Linked DNA regions of Homo sapiens: regions 1, 2, 3, 4 and 5 are each linked to region 6. Evidence: promoter capture Hi-C in human tissues and cell types (Jung and others, 2019). All regions are on one chromosome and are shown on one strand. The core of a region is centred on a gene start or on the middle of the fragment in contact, and the rest is flanking DNA. Distances in the headings are between cores, read along the strand shown.

Region 1 (3,313 bases), core at 144-2,643, 140 kb after region 6:
GAGGCCAACATAGCTGAGACTCTGTCTCTACAAAAAAAATTTTTTTAATTAGCTAGTCATGGTGGTGTGCACCTGTAGTCACAGCTGTTTGGTGGGGCTGAGTTTGGAGGATCACTTGAGCCTAGGAGTTCAAGGCCGCAGTGAGCTGTGATCATGCCACTTCACTCCAACCTAGGCAACAGAAAGAGACCCCGTCTCTTTTTCTCTCTCTCGCTCTCTGTCAACTCTCATTCACACATGCACACATACACACAAAATAGAAGTACTGTCTTCGCTCAAGATTTATTCTTACCCTGCAGGAGATAATCAGTGATGGTCAAATCAACAACAGTGATATGGGGCAATGAAACATCAATAATTAGTTCCCCCCATTCCCCCTTCAAGGTCACCTTGAAGGAGCTGGTTGGGAAAAGCAGGTTTCTATTGGTCTCTCAGGGTGTGACAGTTTGAAAGACAACAAGGATTGACAGCTGAAGGGGCAGGACAGTTTTCACCTTTCCTTAGTAAGTCCGTCCCAAGCAAGCTGGCTGCATGGGAGAGATAGATTGGGAATTTGTGGGATTGGATGACTTTGAATTACTTTGTACTCCATGCTGGGTGGCCTTGCCATAATTTGTCCTCTGAACTTTCTCTCAGAAGTAGAACTGGTGAAGAGAAGGGGCAGCAATGGAGATTCATCCAAGTAAAGGAAGGAGTAGGGTTAAGAAAGTAGTGGTAAGCTTAGGGGACAGATGAGATAAAACAACACTGAGATAATCTGTTCAGCCCAGTAACTGAGTGAAGGCTGTGGCTTTCTGCTTTTGTTGTTGCTGCGTGGGCTTCAGTAGGGTTTGAACAGGTGGGAAGAGTTGGGAGAGCACAATCTGACTTCCCCTGAACCTCTCCCATCTGATAAGACCAACTTTTGATATTTGGGCAACTTCAGTTATTTCCTCCAAGGAAGAAAATCTGTAGGAAAGCCTGAGTGCAGTGAGTGATTCTAGGTTGTTGTGAAAGCTTCAAGGACATTCCTCAACATGTTCAATTTCTTGGGATGACCTAGTATTTGATAAATCAGAAGTTGCTAATAATTTTGCTTCATTTCTTTTCTTTTTTCAAGACAGTCTTGCTCTGTCACCCAGGCTGGAGTGCAGTGGCGTGATCTCAGCCCACTGCAACCTCTGCCTCCCAGGTTCAAGCGATTCTCCTGCCTCAGCCTCCTGAGTAGCTGGAATTACAGGCACCCGCCACCACACCCAGCTAATTTTTGTATTTTTAGTAGAGACGGGGTTTCACCATATTGGCCAGGCTGGTCTTGAACTCCTGACCTCGTGATCTGCCCGTCTCGGCCTCCCGAAGTGCAGGGATTACAGGCATGAGCCACCATGCCTGACCAGAATTTTGCTTCATTTCTTTCTTTCTTTTTTTTTTTTTTGAGACAGAATTCTGCTCTTCTTGCCCAGGCTGGAGTGCAATGGAGCAATCTCAGCTCACTGCAACCTCCACCTCCCAGGTTCAAGCGATTCTCCTGCCTCAGCCTCCCAAGTAGCTGGGATTACATGCATGCACCAACATACCAGGCTAATTTTGAATTTTTAGTAGAGATGGGGTTTCACCATGTTGGCCAGGCTAGTCTCGAACTCCTGACTTCAGGTGATCCACCCACCTCAGCCTCCCAAAGTGCTGGGATTACAGGCGCGAGCCACCATGCCCAGCCGTGCTTCATTTCTTTAACAAAGTTTCATTCAAAAGGTATTTTGTTTTGAAAAAACTTACTTTGACTGAAATAAGCAGAAGCATCAAGTTAAACATGAAGCTAACAAATTTTGCAACCTGACTTCTTACAGATCCTTATGAAAGTTTATGTGAATATTATATAATAACGTTATTTAGATTGCAAAATTAAAAGAGCTTGTAACAAACTCCTAAAGAGCATTTCTTCTACTTTATTTCTAGGCATAGATATCTTGGGACCTTAAATGAAAAATTGTATAATTCTGTGAATTTAGAATTTTTGTTTGTTTTTTGAGACGGAATCTTGCTCTGTTGCACAGGCTGGAGTACAATGGCGTGATCTCGGCTCACTGCAACCTCCATCTCCTGCGCTCAAGTGATTGCCCTGCCTTAGCCTCCTGAGTAGCTGGGATTACAGGCGCACACCACCATGCCTGGCTAATTTTTGTATTTTTAATGGAGACAGGGTTTCGCTATGTTGGCCAGGTTGGTCTTGAACTTCTGACCTCAAGTGATCCAGCTGCCTCAGCATCCCGAAGTGCTGGGATTACAGGTGTGAGCCACCGCGCCTTGCCGAATTTAGATTATTTATTTTTTTTTTGAGATGGAGTCTTGCTGTGCCGCCCAGGCTGGAGTGCAGTGGCATGATCTCGGCTCGCTGCAACCTCTGCCTCTTGGGTTCAAGCGATTCTCCTCCCTCAGCCTCCAGAGTAGCTGGGACTATAGTTGTATGCCACCATGCCCAGCCAATTTTTTTTCTATTTTTAGTAGAGACAGGGTTTCACCACGTTAGCCAGGATGGTCTCAATCTCCTGACCTCGTGAACCACCCGCCTCGGCCTCCCAAAGTTCTGGGATTACAGGTGTGAGCCACCGTGCCCTGCCTAGAATTTTTTTTTTTTTTTTTGAGACGAAGTCTCTTTCTTGTCCCCCAGGCTGGAGTATAATGGCACGATCTCAGCTCACTGCAATCTCTGCCTCCCAGGTTCAAGCGATCCTCTTGCCTCAGCCTCCTGAGTAGCTGGGATTACAGGTGCCTGCCACCACGCCCGGCTAATTTTTGTATTTTTAGTAGAGATGGGGTTTCACCATGTTGGCCAGGCTGGTCTTGAACTCCTGACCTCAGGTGATCCACCTGCCTCGGCCTCCCAAAGTGCTGGGATTGCAGGCGTGAGCTACCGCACCCGGCCCCAGCCTAGAATTTTTTAAAACATTAAATTTTATGCTAGTTGCATAATAACACTCAAAATACCAAGTTTTAACTCCTAAGTCATGCTGTTGGATAGATCATGAAGCTTCTTAAGATTAAATTCTTTATGGTTCTGATATAATAAATGTGCTGTACAGCCATGTCTTTAGTCTTGAATCTCACAAAGCTGCTTCACTGGTTGTTTGAACAACAGATTGTCAATGTACTTCCTTCTCTTTTCATTAGCTGAATAGTTTAACTTATTGAGCATGCCTGGTTTTTTGTCTTCCAGCAATATCCAGATTATTATGCAATAATTAAGGAGCCTATAGATCTCAAGACCATTGCCCAGAGGATACAGGTATGAAGATGACCATAAGTAAATGATTGTGGTTTAGAGCAGATTGGCCTA
Region 2 (3,239 bases), core at 370-2,869, 140 kb before region 6:
AAATGGTAGTGAAACATTAAATATATGTATAGCTATAGAACTTAAACTAAATGATGGTTGTAAGGGAGACACTGTGGTATATAATAGCTGTATGCTCTGAAAATGTAGTTACATTATTACTATAAAAAATATGGGACAAGAATGGGGAAAACGTGAATAGTTGTATAAGCCCACTAATTGTCTTAAAAAAAAAAACAGCTTTATTGCCATGTAATATAACTATTTAAATGTTAACTGGGAGTAAAAGGATAGTACCTGAAATGAGATGCTGAAGGAGAGAAAACGAAGGGCTTATAGCTAACTTCAGTATTGTTTATAGAAACAACAACAACAAAATAGAAAGTAGTCCAAAAATAGAGAGGACTAAAAGTGTTATATAAAGGTAATCCGTAGAACAAAAATAAGAACCTTTCTATATGACGAAAGAGACTTAGAAAGAGAAACTATATGTGTAAACGGGATAGATCACATAGTAAAAAAAACTACATATACACGAAGTATATAACATTTAACAATATGAAATTTAGGCCATGCATATTAATAATATCAATAAGTGTTACTGGGCATACTCTTTTATTAGAAGTAAACAAATAAATTCAGATTGCCTCATAAAGCAAAATCCACTCTTGTCCTCTGTATAGGAGACATACCTAAGCAGAGAGACTACGAAAAAGTAAAAATAAAAGGACAAAGATGTACAGGCAACTGCCAGTAGAAAAGAAACCAGCTGTCAGTCTTGATAGCTGACAAAGGATACTTTGTAAGAAAAGCAGCTATAGACAGCAATAAAAAGGAGGAGGGTCTGCATACAACCAAGGAGTGGGCTCAGGATATGTTATTGTATGAAAAAAAGAAAAATGTGTACAGACTTGAGGAGGAGGAGAGCTCAAGGATATGATGATACAAATGTGTGTGTGTGAACTTATTTTTTTCAAAATAAAAGAGTAAATCGTTGGCCAGGCGCAGTGGCTCACTCCTGTAATCCCAGCACTTTGGGAGGCCGAGGCGGGTGGATCACGAGGTTAGGAGATCAAGACCATCCTGGCCAACATGGTGAAACCCCATCTCTACGAAAAATACAAAAATTAGCCAACCGTAGTGGTGTGTGCCAGTAATCCCAGCTACTCAGGAGGCTGAGGTAGAAGAACCACTTGGACCCGGGAGGCGGAGGTTGCCGTGAGCTGAGATCGTGCCACTGCACTCCAGCCTGGGCAACAGAGCAAGACTCCGTCTCAAAAAAAAAAAAGAATGAATCATTTAGAAAAAAGTTACCTATGGGGAAAGAAGGGAAAAGAATGAAGGAGGTAGGAATAGAAGCTAAATTTTATGAATGTACCTTATTTTATTTTGTAGATTTGACTTTTGAACCTTGTAAATATTTTATGCAACTAGAAAGCAAAATTAAATGTTTAGAAAGCAATTCCTAAAAATCAAGGAAACCTAACTGTATATGGAGCTTATGGGATAACCACACAAAGAGGAGCTATTTCAGTGACTTAAAAATACAGTAAAATATGAAAGTATGTCCCCAGTTAGGGTTATATATTCTAAGGACAACAATAACAAAAAAAAATGCAAAGAAAAAATCTTAACCTATTTTTAGTAATCCTACTGTTGGTGGTAGACTTAATGTTGTTACTTTGAAATAGTTGTTTGTATATGGTAGGCAAAAGCAAATAAAGAATGAAATGTGTGGCCGGGCGTGGTGGCTCACCCCTGTAATCCCAGCACTTTGGGAGGCTGAGGCAGGCGGATCACAAGGTCAGGAGATCGAGACCATCCTGGCTAACATGGTGAAACCCCGTCTCTGCTAAAAATACAAACAATTAGCCAAGCATGGTGGCGGGCGCCTGTAGTCCCAGCTACTCAGGAGGCTGAGGCAGGAGAATGGCGTGAACCTGGGACAGAGCAAGACTCTGTCTCAAAAAAAAAAAAAAAAAAGAAATGTGTAATTGAGAACTAGGATTTTCAGCGTTATAGAAAGGAAATAGAGCTTAGATGGATGAGTTAAATGAAAGCACTATCTTTCTGAATTTGTATTGGAAGTATTGTGATGTAAGAAGAAGAAGAAATGCATTAACTCTAGACACTGAAAAGGCCGAGAAACACTAACCCAGTGACAATGAGCATGCCCAGGTCTCTAAATACCATTTCCATGGAAATAAACTGGGGCTTCTTGCAGAAGTAGCTGAGTCCTGCACTAGGTCAGGCAATTTCCTAGATGATCCTGGAACATCTTGTCATACCAAAAAGCAAAAAAGTTATCAGTGGCTCTTTACTAGTGTCATGCCAAAAGGTCTCAGGAGCCAACCTGAAGAGACTGCCTCTGGTTGAAGATAGAGTGTCGTAAGGACAACAGCTGTAATGGCTTGAAATGTATTTGTTTTAATGTATGACTTCATAGTGAAATTTTGAAACAAAACCCTCATTAGCCACTCTTGGAAGATGCCTGCCAATCAACTGTTTATTTTAAAGGGTGGTAAATATAGAGAAAGAGTAAAGACAATCAAGTATATGTTCAAAGAAAGCCTTCTTTCTATGAAATCTACCTCAGCATAATCAAATAGTTGATGTAGAGAAATTTTTCTTTATGGAAGTTCTTTGGTTAGTAAATGAAGAAGGAATAATACAATTAGAATATCACCATTGAGCCCGTAATGAATCAGTGCATCTATGTAGTAACCGTTAAAAGCTGCTAATGTCACAAAGGGAGAGACAGCCAGACCATATGTGCCTCTTCATGCTCTTGAGGGAAGGGTATAACTTATTCCACTTGTGAAGTATTCTTTCACCCTCACCACCCCGCAAAGTCTAACCTGAATTTGATCAAGCTTCTAGCTCTAAATACTGATTTATGGCAAATACAGGGAACAGTAGAACAACTGGTCACCACAGGGACGTAACCAATGAAATCAGACTCTAAAAAACTCCATAGAGAACAAAGGCCAGGTCTCAATAAATGTGGAGTAAAAAAAGAGAGAGTAGGGACACGGGAGGGGAGGAAGGAGAAGAAACCTACTGATGAAAAGAAATCAAGGAGACATTTGCAATGCGTGCGTCTCACTTGGGTCCTGATGTAATCAAACAAATTGACAAAACTGTTTATGAGACAATTGGGGAAGTTTGAACATAGACTGGATATTTGATATTAAGGAATTATTGTTAATTTTTTAAAGGTATGATGTTGTTATTGTGGTTTTGTAAGAAAATATTTTCTTTTAGAAATATGTACTAAAATA
Region 3 (3,402 bases), core at 76-2,575, 250 kb before region 6:
AAAATGGTAGTGAAAGTAGTAACAAAAAAAGTGTGGTTGCAACTATACACAGTATATATATGTTTCATGTCGTGAAAAGTTGCATTTCTTTGTAACAATATGGATTACTGTATTCTTTTTAGATTTTTCTTTCTCCGGTTGTCATATTGTTTTTTCAGTGGTGCTAAAAAAAATCTGGATTCAAATCCAGCCAGCAGCGTGACTTTGAGCAAGTTTGTGAAGTGGGATATTTCTCAGAGCGGTTGAGGGAGGTGGCTTGAGCTCGCACCTGGCACACGGTGAGAACCCCAGACTTTCTTCTTGCTGTGGGGGCGCCTCTGGGCCCTGTCCGATAACGCCTTTCACGGCCTGGGAGTCTGATCGGGAGCTCCCGGGTCTCGGTGGCGCGGGAACTCCCTTCTGGAGGGAACTTTCCGGAGCAGGTGGGCGGGTGTATGTCCCACGGGCACCTGCGCTCAGGAGGAGGGGGCGAGCTCGGGCAACGTAACCGCCCACGGTCACCTCGGGCTGCGGGGCCGACTTGAAGCCGCCTTCGAGGTTCTGATCCTTCCCGGGGCTCTGGGCTCGTTCGTCCCAATTCGCAGCTGTCCTGTGCCCCCTCGCTGCAGGAAGACTCAAGATTTACAGGGCGCCTCCTGCGGAAGCCTAGAGACATCGGGGGCGCCGAAGGGCCCGCGCCGGACTTCGCAGACAGGGGGCACTTGGGTGCCCTTTCAGGTCTCAGAGGGAGCGCCCGATCCCCGACGAGGGGCAGGCAAACGGGCGCAGTGCCCGCGGCGGCGGCACGCGCGCATCTGGGATCCGGCCGCTTCTCCGCTCATGCCATCTTGTCCGAGCCAGTCACGTGCGGGCGACAGCGGCGCGCTTCGCCGGGCCGGTACTCCAGGTCCGACCCGCGAACCCCTCTGGGATCCCCGCCGCTCTGTCTACAACCCGAGGTGAGGCGCAGGCTGGATCGGGGCTGGGCCAGGGCGGGCACTGGGTTCCCGGGGACGCGTCTCCTCTTCCGGGCCGTTCCGCTCGGGGCCACAGCGCCGTCGGGGGCCCGAGGCGCCGCCGCGTGTCCTGCGCCACGGCCTCGGGGCCGTCCGCGCCGAGTTGCTGGCTGGGGGCGTGGGTGGCCCGCGGCGCCGGACCCCCGGCACACCAGCCCGCGGAGTCCTTGCCTCCCGCGCGGCCCCAGCCAGGAGGGATGGCGCTGGGGCGGGAGCGGGGCAGCCGGGCCCGGGAGCTCCACGGGCGCGGCGCGAGGGGCGCAGGCTGCCTGGAGGACCGCGGAGCTGGGGGTGGGGGGGCGCGGGCGCATGCGCCCTGCGTCCGTGCCATATTGGAATGAGTCGGAGCGCGGAGCGCCGCCGCCGCCTCCGCCGGAGCGCGGGTGGAGGGGGGCGGGGAGAGCTGCCGGCCGCCCCGCTCCGCCGAACCCAGCAGGAAGGAGGGCGCGAGCGGGCGAGCGCGGGCAGCACGGGAGGAAAAAGCTTCCGCGCGGGGGAGCGAAAAGACGGAAAGAAAGAAAGAAAACGAGCGCGAGAGGGGGAAAAGCGAGCGATCGAGCGAGCGCGCGCGCGAAAACTCCGGGCAGGTAAAAAAGCGGGGCCACCGGCTGGGCCTTCCCGCGCGGCGGCCTGGAGGGGCGGCGGCGGCGCCGGGGCGGGGGACCGTACGGCGTCCCCTTCGAAGCGGCCGCGCAACTTTGCCAACGGGAAACCGCCGGGCGCCGGCGGGCGCGCGGGCTGAGGCGCCAACGGGCGGCGGCGGCGGCACGTTGGGGGCGGGGGCGGGGCGGGGGGAGCGCGGCGCCCGCGCGCGGCCCCGCGGTCCCGCGCGCCGGCCGGCCGGCTGCAGGGGCGCGCCTGGGCGCCTCGCCGCGGCGGAGAGCGGCGGCGGCCGTCAGCCCCTGGCAGGCAGCGCGGCGCGCGTCAGCCCGCGGGAGGCGTGAAAGGAAAGTGGCCGGGCGGCGGCAGTGGCGGGCGCCCAAGTTCCCCGGCGCGCCGGGCCCGCCGCGCGCCCCTCCCCGCGCGCGCCCCGCGCTCCGCCCGCCGAGCCCCCGCGGACCCGCCCCCCGGGCTCGCTCCGGGCGGGGCGCGAACCCGCAGCTGGGGCCGGGCGCGCGGCCGGTCGGAACTTCGGAGGGCCCGGGCGGTCGCTGCGCGGTGGCGGAGCGTCTAGTGGCCGCCGCAACCGGTGGCTCCGGGCCGCCGTTGTGAAGTGAGCGGGCCTCTCCCGCGCCGCGGCCCGCCGGGCACCGCCGCTGGACCCCGCGCCGACCCGGCAGCGCCCCGACCTGCCGCTCGGGAGGTCCGCGACCGTTTCGATTTCTGTTCCTAAAGTCCGATTTTGGACGCTGAAAAGGAGGCTGTGGAGGGGCGAGCGGCGTCCTGGGAAGCAAGGCCTGCTCTGTGCGGAGCAGAAACGCCTTGTGCGAACAGAAATAAATTCCCGCGGAAAGGATGTACGTTATGCTAAGTTTTTCACAAGATGTCAGCTGTTCCCGTAGGGTCTAAAACTAAGCCGGCAGGCACAGGTCACCCCCAGAGCTTGTGCTCAAGGAGTGGTGGACGCTTGGGTCAGGTGGGGGTGTTCCCAGCGGGTCGCCCGAAGCAGCACTGGTTGATGGTCCCAAGTGGTGTTTTTGAGTCCTGTTAGCAGTGATCTGTGTTTGAGAACCAAGTAACCATCAAAGAGATTCGAAAGGAAGTAAGATGGATTTTGTCAATCCCTGCGTATGTCTTCTCTTGAACCACATTTTCTAAGATGTCATTCTTAATTTTATTGCATCTGGGTAAAATGCCTGAACGTGTAATCATTAATTTGTCAACTGGCGAGAGGATGAAGGAAGATGTGTCTTCATGTGTACACTTTGAGGCCTGTTGACTAGCGTTTTGAGGCATTTGTTGAATTAGGCCGTAGGTAGATTCGGAGTTAAGATTTGTTTGCGATGTCAGAAAAGTTACGGCCTGGTAGAAACGGCCAGAGATCAGGAAACAGTTCTGTTATTACCGTTGTCATTGACTAACTGCCTTATCTTGGGCACATTTCTTACCCATTGTAGCTTTGATTTTCCTTATTTGCAACATTAAGATAAACAGATGATGTTTGGGGGTGCTTTCAGTTCGAAAATTCGGTGGCTTTCTTAACTGAAAGATTCTTAGAAATCACAGTGTATATTTTGAGAGGTACTACATAAAAGTGCTCGCAATGTGTGTCTTTATTAAAATTCATTTGGAAAAAACATCTTGGTAGCTAGATCCAGAATGGTTTTATATGATTATTTGAATAGATTTTTAACAATGTATTTTTATGGAGGTATGTATAACCTACCGAAAGATCTTAAGGGTACAATTCAATGACTTTTTATATATGTATATGCCCTGATAACCACACTCAGATCAAGATATGGAA
Region 4 (3,231 bases), core at 56-2,555, 230 kb before region 6:
GGTAGTCTATTCTTTTTCTCCCCCATGGTAGTACATTTCTAGCCCATGACTTTTTTTTTTTTTTTTTTTTTTTGAGACGGAGTCTCGCTCTGTCGCCCAGGCTGGAGTGCAGTGGTGCATCTCGGCTCACTGCAAGCTCCGCCTCCCGGGTTCATGCCATTCTCCTGCCTCAGCCTCCCGAGTAGCTGGGACTACAGGCGCCCGCCACCATGCCTGGCTAATTTTTTTGTATTTTTAGAAGAGACGGGGTTTCACCGTGTTAGTCAGGATCTTCTCAAGCTCCTGACCTTGTGATCTGCCTGTCTTGGCCTCCCAAAGTGCTGGGATTATAGGCATGAGCTACCGCGCCCGGCCTAGCCCATAACTCTTGTGACTTGCTCAGAGAGTGTTCACACCAAGCCAGTGACAGGCAGGCAGGTCCCCTCTGAGAGTACTTGTGCACTTCCCTGCAAGGGTTCCCAGCCACGAGTGCTAGACTGGGCGTTTCTGAGTTGTGTTTGCTCTGCTATGGCCTTCTTTCTGCCATTTATTCTGTGTTCTAGCAGGTAATTTTTTTTTAAGATGGGGTCTTGCTATGTCACCCAGACTGGAATGCAGTGACCATACACAGGTATGATCATGATAGCACATTACAGCCTCCAACTCCTGGACTCAAGCTGTTTTCCCATCTCAGCCTCCCGAGTAGCTGGGACTAGTGGTACAAGCATGTGCCACCATGCCCAGCTAGTAAGTAGTTTTGACCCATGAAGGCAGACAAAGAGATGTGACTTGTAGAGTTGAATTTGTGGCAAAGAAACAGTATCACACTGTATGTCAACACACAAGTTTTATGGAACTAAGGTGACTTCAAGAAGTGGTCTGAAAGCGAGGCATGGTGGCTCATGCCTGTAATCCCAGCATTTTGGGAGGCCAAGGCAGGTGGATTGCTTGAGCCCAGGAGTTCGAGACCAGCATGGGCAACATGACAAAACCCTGTCTCTACAAAAAATACAAAAATTAGTTGAGTGTGGTGGTGTGCACCTGTAGTCTCAGCTACTCAGGTGGTTGAGGCAGGAAGATCACTTGAATCTGCCTCCAAGTGAGCTGTGTTCGAGCCACTGCACTCCACCCTGGATGACAGAGCAAGACCCTGTCTCAAAAAGAGTGGTCTGAGAAAAAGAAACAACCGTAGACGTCAGCAGGCAATTAGGGTTAATCAAGTTTTTTGTACTGTGAAAGGCTTTGTAAACAATGGGGTAACCTGGCAAGTTGGACTATCCAAAGTTTAACCCATTTATGCCTACTGTTCCATTACTGGAACGCTAAGCTTGTGGGAGTTATTTATATCATAGTGCTCAAGGTCATCACCAAGGTCTGAGTTTTCACACAAAAAAATTTGCAACCTCCAGCATAAATGGGTTAAAGAACAGGGGGAAGAAACAATGGCTTAAAGGCATGTTTTAATTTCACAGGATTTTAAGAGGAAGCAAATTTCCTGTGGATGATGCCTAACGAATTTACATACGGACTCTGCTTTAGTGACCTTTCTCATTCTTCCATCCATGCCTGTGAAAAAAGGCAGCTGCAGCCTGATTGGCCCATGTGCACACTAGGACTTGTCAGAAATAGCTGACCTCTGGGGCAGATGGTAGGCACTGAATCACTGAATTTCCTTCTCCTGTGAAAATGACAGTATTCCTGGAGGCAGAAATGTTATTGCTGTGTTAAAAAGTTGAATTTTCTCATTAGTGAACTGGAGGTGCCATGATCTGATACCATAGTAATTCATTTAGCAGACACTAAGTAGCTGTGACATGAAGCAGTGGTGCCAGGGGTTTAGGGAATGCAAAATTGAGTAAGTTCCCTGGCCTAGAGAAGCTTATAATCAGGATAGGAAATGATACAGAACTTGTGTTTAAGTGTTGTCAAAAAAGTGTAAAGCGTCTACTATGGAAGGTGTTTTAACGGGGGTGGGGGAATGGGCTAACATTTGTAGAGTTTTGTTTTGAGAAAGGATTTTTTGTAGGAGTAAATGGCAGTGAGTTAGTGATTTGTGAATACTTCTATATTGTATTATTAGTGTAAGAATTTTTAATAAGCTAAAAATTTCAGGTCTTAATAGAGGAAACATCTAGTGTAAAATAAGAAAGTAACCCTGAAATTTTCTTTTGAATTCCCTTCCCTGTTGGGCATGGTGGGTCATGCCTATAATCCTAGCACTTTGGGAGGCCAAGGAGGGAGGATTAGTTGAGACGAGGAGTTTGAGACCAGCCTGGGCAACCTAGCGAGACCCCATCTCTACAAAAAATTGAAAAATTAGCCAGGTGCGGTGGCACGATTGTGTAGTCTTAGCTACTTGGGAGGCTGAACCCAGGAGGTCGAGGCTGCAGTAAGCCGTGATTGCACCATCTTACTCCAGCCTCTCCAGGGACAGGGCAAAACCCTGTCTCTAAAGGAAGAAAAAAAATCCCTTCTCAAACCTTTATCTTTAGCGCTGCCTCCTTCTTAAGCTATTATTTAATTTTGTTGAGGTTCTTGCCAGCTCTTCCTTTTTGAGAGTGCGGCTAAGAACCAACCACACAGATCTCTGGGCTGTTATATCTAGGACTGTAGGCAGCCCCACAGGGACCTACCTGTAACTGCAGTGAGCAGCTGTGGGGGCACAGGGAGGGAGGGTAAACTCTGTTAACTTGTGGCCATGAACATGCAGCTTGGTAGGAATTCCAGCTATCCTTAAAGGGCCTCAGCCTTTTTACTTTGTATTCTCTGTTGAGTTCCTCTATTTGCTCTTTAATTGCTAAGGAAGACTTACTGTCCTCACTGAGTGGCTACGTGTGAGTCGTTTGCTGTCTTGACTTATGGTTTTGTGTGTTTTTAGAATCTTTCCTTTCTAGTACAATAAAATATTTTTATTATTTTAAAAATTAAACTGATTTTGGTAGAATGCTAGGAAAGGGACCAAAAATTTAGTTCATGTTAACTTACTGGAGAATTTTGGTGGGATAGCAGGTTTTGAAGAGATGAAGTGCCTTTTTATTACAGCTTATTACTTTACTGTTGATACTTGTAAGCTGTTACTTGAGACATAAGCATTACTGTGGCAGTTTGTGTTTTCATGTAGTGATGTTTATGGTGTTAATATTTTTTCAGATAATTAATTTTGCTTTTAATAATTTAAAACTACACTTTCTGTAAAGTGATCAGTTGCATTTGGGGGTAGAACTTTTTCTGAAGCAATGTGCTTACATCACT
Region 5 (3,423 bases), core at 674-3,173, 190 kb before region 6:
TTATACCAATAATTTTGTACTAAGCACTGTAAAGTGGAATTGGTAAGTCCTAATCTTAGAAAACTGGCCACCTTTGTAATATTGCATTTAAGTTCACAAAATAATAATTTAGTGGTAGGAAAGAAACCAAATTATTTTTAAGGAAAGAATAGAAAAGTGGAGAAAAGAAATCAGGAAGAGGAATCTTTCTGTTTAACAGGTGTAGAGATTTAACCAAAAATTTCTATATATTTAACATTAGATACTTTTGGTTTTCAGAGAATGTTTACATATGTTAGATTGAAAGGTGTGGGGGTACTGAAATCTATAAAAACAACTATTAAGGTGTGACTAGGGTCTAATACTAACCAAACAGAAGGCTGCCAAGTGTCCTGCTGCGCTTTGGAAATAACAGGTAAGTAAGTAGACTGCTATTCTGCCAGTTAGGGTTTTGGTTTTACATCTTGCATATAAGTCTGTTTAGATTCCTAATTAATTATCATAACCTAGGCTGGTTTTTTTCCTCATGTCCATTTAACTTTTTGTGCCAAATTATTTTACAGATTTAATGTGTTACGTAGTACATCTCTAGTAGTAACCAGAGATTTACTCCTTTTTTGGAAGCACTTACTTTAAAAGCTCCTGAAGAGTTGTTTTGTGTTCTAAATAATTTATACTTTTTCTAAATAACTAATACTTGTTCCTAGTATCATTGTTGTTAAATGTTCAGCATGCCTCTTAGGTATTGGCTCAGTGTTTTGCAGCAGACATTCACCATTGTGTTTCCCCGAGGATACCCTCGCAGCAGCATTACCCTGGAGTTGGGAGGCGTTCTTGAGGGACAGGTTCTTGAGGTGTTCTTGAGGGACTGACCTGTATGGTTGCCTGTCGTGATTTTTGAGGGGTGGTAGCCTATCCAAAAGTTCTCAATATTTATAACTGATAATCTAGTTCTTATAGGGCCTTAAACTTAAAAAAAATTCCAGTGAATTAATTGTACAGCATATGTGTCTATAGTCTAGGCATCTTTAAATTCTAACATAGAGCTTTTAAAAATGCTTGTATGTTTAATGTAACAATACAAAGCAGCAAAATCCCCAGAGCATCCTCTCTTATAATCACGAGTTAAAGTTTGGTGAGTGATTGGACCTCCCAAGGGTCTCTCTAAGTCAACCACTATAACTTCCCCTCAGCTCTCTTCTGGGTTGAGGCAGAGCCTGTTACTCCGTTGGGGAAAGACTTTGTTTTTTATGCTTTCCTGATGATTCTGACATTTTTGATGATGGCTGTTTATTACACTGATTTTTTTAGCCTTTTGGCTAAATTCAGTGTTATTCCATTCTTAATTCAGTGTTATTCCATTCCATTAAAGAATTAATAAGGAAATGTGTTTTAATTTAAAAATGTGTACTGTATCCTTTCATATGAATTAATCTGTTTTAGGGCCCTACTAGAATAAGATTTTAGAAGCTTATAGATGGCAGCATCTGTCTAGGTGCCATCCAGACTCTTGGTTACTCACCATTCTAAGCAGAACAGTATGGAACTTAGAAGTTAAATGAATGAATGAATAAAACAACTTGAGCGCAGATCATCTAGGGCCATCACTCTATGGTATAAGACATACCTCACAATTATCCTTGTATTCTCTGAGCTCCAAGAAAAGCCCCAGAGCCCAGAAACACTAAGGAGCTCAGGCTTGGGATCAGATGAGGGTTCAAATGCTGCCCCTGCTGCTTCCTATCTACAGTCATGCATGGCATGATGGTGTTTCAGTCAATGGTGGCCTGTATATATGACGGTGGTCCCATACAGTTATAATGGAGATGAAAAATTCCTATGGCCTAATGATGATGTAGTAGCCATCCTAAAGTCATAGTGAGATACCTACTCGTGTTTGTTGTGGTACTGGTGTAAATAAACCTGCACTGGCAGTTGTATAAAAGCATAACACATACAGTTATGTACAGTACATAATACTTGATCATAATATATAACTGTGGTTTATTTACTGTACTTTTAAATCATTATTTTAGAGTATATGCCTTTTATTTATTAAAAAAAAATTAACTGTAAGCCAGCCTCAGACAGGTCCTTCAGGAGGTATTCCAGAAGGAGGCACTGTTATCAAGGAGATGGCAGCTCCATGCATGTTATTGCTCCCGAAGATCTTCCAGTGGGACAGGATGTGGAGGTGGAAGACAACGATATTGATGATCCTGGTCGTGTGTAGTCCTAGGCTGTTGTGTTAGTTTTTAACAAAAAGTTTTAACAAGTAAATAAAAAGTTAATAGAAAAAAGTTATAGAATAAGGATATAAAGAAAAAATATATATATTTTGAGATGGAGTCTCACTCTTTCGCCCAGACTGGAGAGCAGTGGCACGATCTCGGCTCACTGCAACCTCCACCTCCCGGGTTCAAGCGATTCTCCTGCCTCAGCCTCCTGAGTAGCTGGTATTACAGGCACTCGCCACCACACCCTGCTAATTTTTTTTTTTTTTTTGAGACAGAGTCTTGCTCTGTCACCAGGCTAAAGTGCAGTGGCGCGATCTCGGTTCACTGCAACCTCCACCTCCCAGGTTAAAGCGATTTCCCTGCCTCAACCTCCCGAGTAGCTGGGACTACAGGCACCTGCCACCATGCCTGCCCGACTAAGTTTTTTTTTTGTATTTTTAGTAGAGATGGGATTTTGCCATGTTGGCCAGGCTGGTCTCAAACTCCTGATCTCAGGTCACCTGCCCACCTCGGCTTCCCAAAGTATTGGATTACAGACGTGAGCCATGGCGCCCGACCAAAAAAATATTTTTGTACAGCTATACAGTGTTTGTATTTTAAGCTATGTGTTATTACAAGAAAGTCAAAAAAATTTTAAAAATCAAAAAGTTTATAAAGTTACAGTAAGCTAAGGTTAATTTATTATGGAAGGAAGAAAAGTATTCTTAAAACAAATTTAATGTGGCTTACATGTGCAGTGTTTAGAAAGTCTACAGTAGTATACAGTAATATCCCAGGCCTTCACATTCACTCACCACTGACTGACTCACCCAGAACAACTTCCCAGTCCTGCAAGCTCCATTCATGATAAGTGCCCTATATAAGTGTTCCATTTTTTATCTTTTTTTTTTTTTTTTTCCTGAGACGGAGTCTCACTCTGTCTCCCAGGCTGAAGTGTAGTGGCATGATCTCAGCTCACTGCAACCTCCACCTCCCAGGTTCAAGCAATTCTCCTGCCTCAGCCTCCTGAGTAGCTGGGACTACAGGCGCCCACTACCACACCGAGCTAATTTTTGTATTTTTAGTAGAGACGGGGTTTCACCATGTTGGCCAGGCTGGTCTCAAACTCTTCACCTCAAATGATCTGCCCACCTTGGCCTCCCAAAGTGCTGGGATTACAGGCGTGAGCCACCTCGCCTGGCCTCATTTTTTATCTTTTATGATATAT
Region 6 (3,038 bases), core at 296-2,795:
CTGGAAGACTTGGTGGCGTCTCCAGTCTCCATGTTCTGGTGGCCACCATTATTCAGATGCTTGTCCTGCCTCCTTAATTCTGCGATCCGTTTACACACCACTGCAGCCAGTGAGAGCTTGCCCTTTCCCGTCCAGTCACCCTGAGCTCCAGCTATGCGTGGGACACTGGCTCTGGAGCATCTGCCCCTGGCTCTTCCTGCTCATCCTCCACACCTCACACTCCCTCAAGCACACAGCCCAGCCCACCTCCTGGGTCTTTAGGTAATTGCCTCATTCTGTCTCCCAAAGAGGAACTGATTTCCTGTGCCAAGGGAAGTCTCCAAACACCCTCTTTCCAATAGGGGTGTTGAATTTTGAGAGGCTCTAGGGAGGTGTTCCAGCCCCCTCCCCCTAGGGATATAAAGATGCTTCGTGAGGGTGTGGCAGGGACCGCTTCACAGAGCCAGGTACCAGCAAGTGCTAAGGAAGTGTCTGCGGAAGGAAGGGATGCCTGTGAGGGGCCCTCTTGGGCTACATCCTGCGAGGTTGGAGGGGTCGTCACTCTGTGGTGCTCTTTCCCAGGAGTCCTGCGCTGTTGGAGGCTGCCAGGGCAGAGGGCCGTAAGCTGTTTGCCAGCTGTGAGGAGTCAGCTGTTATAGCCTACACCTTCAGCAGTTGGGGAACCAGCTCCATCCTGCCCTGCCCCACTCGGTCCCACCCCCTGGTGAAAGTTCTTACCCCTTCCGGGAGGCTCCGTTTCTGAAAAAACAAAAACAAACACAAACACAGGAATCAGGCCAAGGCCAACACCAAGGCCGCATGGCCTGGGAGGCTCTGGGCTGAGACCAGGGGTTCAGTGGTGCCCTGCCCCCCACACACCTGAGTGGCCCCCAGACATAGGACCCTCCAGAGCCACATGTCAGAGTAGGAAAAACTCTGAATAGATGGGGAAACTGAGGTCCAGAGAGGGGCAGGTATCCAGGTTACCAGGAGAGCAGGGCAGGGGGAACTGAACCCAGAGCTCTCTTCACACCCTACATGCCCCACCTCATTCTATCTCCCATTCTGCCTTTCCCTGGCCCCCAGGCCCCTTTAGGCCTCCTTCCAGAGCACCCCTGCCCCCGCCACACCCCGCAGGGCTCAACTGAGCATTTTGTAGAGGTCACACTCGTTTGAGACTTGAACCTTCATTGCCCCTCAGTGAAGTGAGCAGTTCCTGGTGCATTGCTCTTTTGACAGGTGGGGAAGCTGAGGCCCAGGGAGTTTTAAGAGCCTTCCCAGGGTTAGACAACAGGTTAGCATAGGCCTCAGCTGGAGCCCGGTTCTCCCAGTGTCCACACTACTCCCAGCAGCTCAGTGCCCAGCCCTCTGCCTCCTCTTCACTCCACTCAGAGGCCTTGCCCAGCATGATGCCTTCTGCCCATTCCACACCAAGACCCAGATGGCAAAGAGGGGGCAGACTCACCCCAAGCAGCCGAAAGGGGCTTCTCGGGAAGCCAGAGGCTGCCAAGCTGGAGAGCAGAGCCAAGATGAGACAGGGCCACCATGCAAATGCCATCGCTGAATACTCAGGCCTGGCCCACGCTCCTTATATGAGCAAGCCTGGTGTTTTCCAAGCAGGGTCAGTGACCTGCAGCGGGGGTGGGAGGAGTGGAGGCAGGAAGGGCCTCCGGGAAGCTGGGCATGGGTGGAATGACGGGTCCCTCGATGTGTCTGTCTGAAGAAGGCCTGGTGGGTCTTGCCAACAGCGTTGGGGCTTCATTCCTGAGAGACCGGGGGACTCGGAAGAGGCCCGCAGGAAAGCAGAAGCTGTGGGCCAACAAATGGACCCTGGGACTCCCTGGCGTGGATGATGGAGATGGGGTGTGGAGTTGCATTTAGGGCAAAGGGCATCTCAGCATTGTTGCCTCTTATCCCTACCACTGGGACAGCCTCTCTCTGGCCTCCTGGATTGCAGCCCCTCCCTTCTTGAGGCAGCCAGGGCGTGAAACTAGACTGTCACCTTCAGGCTGGGACCTCCACAGCAGAGCCCCTCGCTCACTACCCTTCTATGGCCCCCAAAGCCCCAGGGAAAGGACACACAACGATCCCGGAAGCCCAGCTGTCTCTGTGATCTGACCCCAGCTTGTTTTTCTGAGCTCACTCTCTTGCACCAGCACACCCTCCCCTTCTGCACATGTCACATCTTTCATCTCTCTGCCAGTCCCAGTGCCTCCCCTCCAGGACCCTTCCCTGGCCATCCCCTAGAGGACTATGGGACATCCCTGCTCCAAGCCCCAAGCCCCCTGAGGGCCTGCTTTGTCATGACCTTATGTTGAGGTGGATGTGCTCAGGTCTGCCTGCCCCCTCTGCACCCAGAGCTCCTGGGGGCTGGACCATGTCATGTTTCCCTCTGTGCTTCCAGGGCCCAGCCAGGGACTTGGCTGCCCTCAGCCTTTTGGGGAGTCATTGCCCTAAAAGTCGTAGTGAGGCTGGGCTCCAGCTTCCAGGACAACAGGAGCTTTAGAGGCAGGACCTGGTCTCAGTGGGGGCTGGGACCTCCTGAGCCACCTCAGGACCCTGCCAGCCTAGCCCCATCAGGGCAGCTGTTGCACACCCACCATACCCATGGCTTCTCTGAGCCAAGCTGACCCTGTGACCCTCCCACTGGGCAGCCCACTACTGAATGGAGTCGACAAGGACGGCTGGGTCCAGGACAACTAACTTATGGGGAGTTCAGCGGCCTCAGCTGAAAGCTCTGGTGCTGACTGGGAGATGTGCAGAGAGAGTTGTTGGGAGCAGAGGAACCAAGAAGGCAAAAGGCAGATGCCACGGGGCAGCGGAAGCCCTGAGGAGGGTGTGGTCTAATGGCTGGAAGAGGCAGCAGCCACAGAGCAATGATGGAGAGTTGCCAAATCAGCCAGGCACTATGGCTCTTGCCTGTAATCCCAGCTTTTTGGGAGACTGAAGCTGGAGGATCACCTGGGCCCAGGAGTTCGAGGCTGCAGTGAGCGCTGTGTTCGTGCCACTGCGCTCCAGCCCGGATGACAGGGCGAGACCCCCGTCTCAAAAAAAAAAAA

Evidence for each region. Contacts are between HindIII fragments. The study calls those that stand out against the background at their distance.
Region 1: a contact is called between a fragment that was not itself captured here and the fragment with the promoter of ITIH3 in region 6, in 2 of the 25 tissues and cell types used here (spleen and thymus).
Region 2: a contact is called between a fragment that was not itself captured here and the fragment with the promoter of ITIH3 in region 6, in 2 of the 25 tissues and cell types used here (adrenal gland and spleen).
Region 3: the fragment with the promoter of SFMBT1 here is called in contact with the fragment with the promoter of ITIH3 in region 6 in 1 of the 25 tissues and cell types used here (spleen).
Region 4: a contact is called between a fragment that was not itself captured here and the fragment with the promoter of ITIH3 in region 6, in 2 of the 25 tissues and cell types used here (liver and spleen).
Region 5: a fragment that was not itself captured here is called in contact with the fragment with the promoter of ITIH3 in region 6 in 5 of the 25 tissues and cell types used here (bladder, lymphoblastoid cells, mesenchymal stem cells and 2 more).

What each region holds. Positions count from the first base shown.
Region 1 is chr3:52,651,691-52,655,003 of GRCh38, reverse strand. PBRM1 (polybromo 1) reads left to right here. Exons shown (of 32, transcript NM_001405607.1): 7 at 3,194-3,262. Among named protein-coding and RNA genes, the nearest start is that of PBRM1, 33 kb to the left of the region's middle. The HindIII fragment of the contact is 3,551 bases long and covers 1-3,168 here.
Region 2 is chr3:52,935,596-52,938,834 of GRCh38, reverse strand. All of the region lies in intron 4 of SFMBT1 (Scm like with four mbt domains 1), which reads left to right. Among named protein-coding and RNA genes, the nearest start is that of STIMATE-MUSTN1, 40 kb to the right of the region's middle. The HindIII fragment of the contact is 6,743 bases long and covers 1-3,239 here.
Region 3 is chr3:53,043,996-53,047,397 of GRCh38, reverse strand. It overlaps SFMBT1 (Scm like with four mbt domains 1), which reads left to right and starts at 1,325. Exons shown (of 21, transcript NM_016329.4): 1 at 1,325-1,582. RefSeq lists enhancers at 8-507, 508-1,009 and silencers at 997-1,106, 1,157-1,476, 1,577-1,636, 1,997-2,286. The HindIII fragment of the contact is 17,124 bases long and covers 1-2,718 here.
Region 4 is chr3:53,026,014-53,029,244 of GRCh38, reverse strand. The region is part of intron 1 of SFMBT1 (Scm like with four mbt domains 1); the gene reads left to right. Among named protein-coding and RNA genes, the nearest start is that of SFMBT1, 18 kb to the left of the region's middle. The HindIII fragment of the contact is 5,578 bases long and covers 1-3,231 here.
Region 5 is chr3:52,985,836-52,989,258 of GRCh38, reverse strand. The region is part of intron 1 of SFMBT1 (Scm like with four mbt domains 1); the gene reads left to right. Among named protein-coding and RNA genes, the nearest start is that of SFMBT1, 59 kb to the left of the region's middle. The HindIII fragment of the contact is 4,868 bases long and covers 1-3,423 here.
Region 6 is chr3:52,793,303-52,796,340 of GRCh38, reverse strand. ITIH3 (inter-alpha-trypsin inhibitor heavy chain 3) reads right to left here and starts at 1,545. Exons shown (of 22, transcript NM_002217.4): 1 at 1,445-1,545; 2 at 718-738. The coding sequence starts at 1,537. RefSeq lists an enhancer at 1,058-1,947. The HindIII fragment of the contact is 27,249 bases long and covers 1-3,038 here.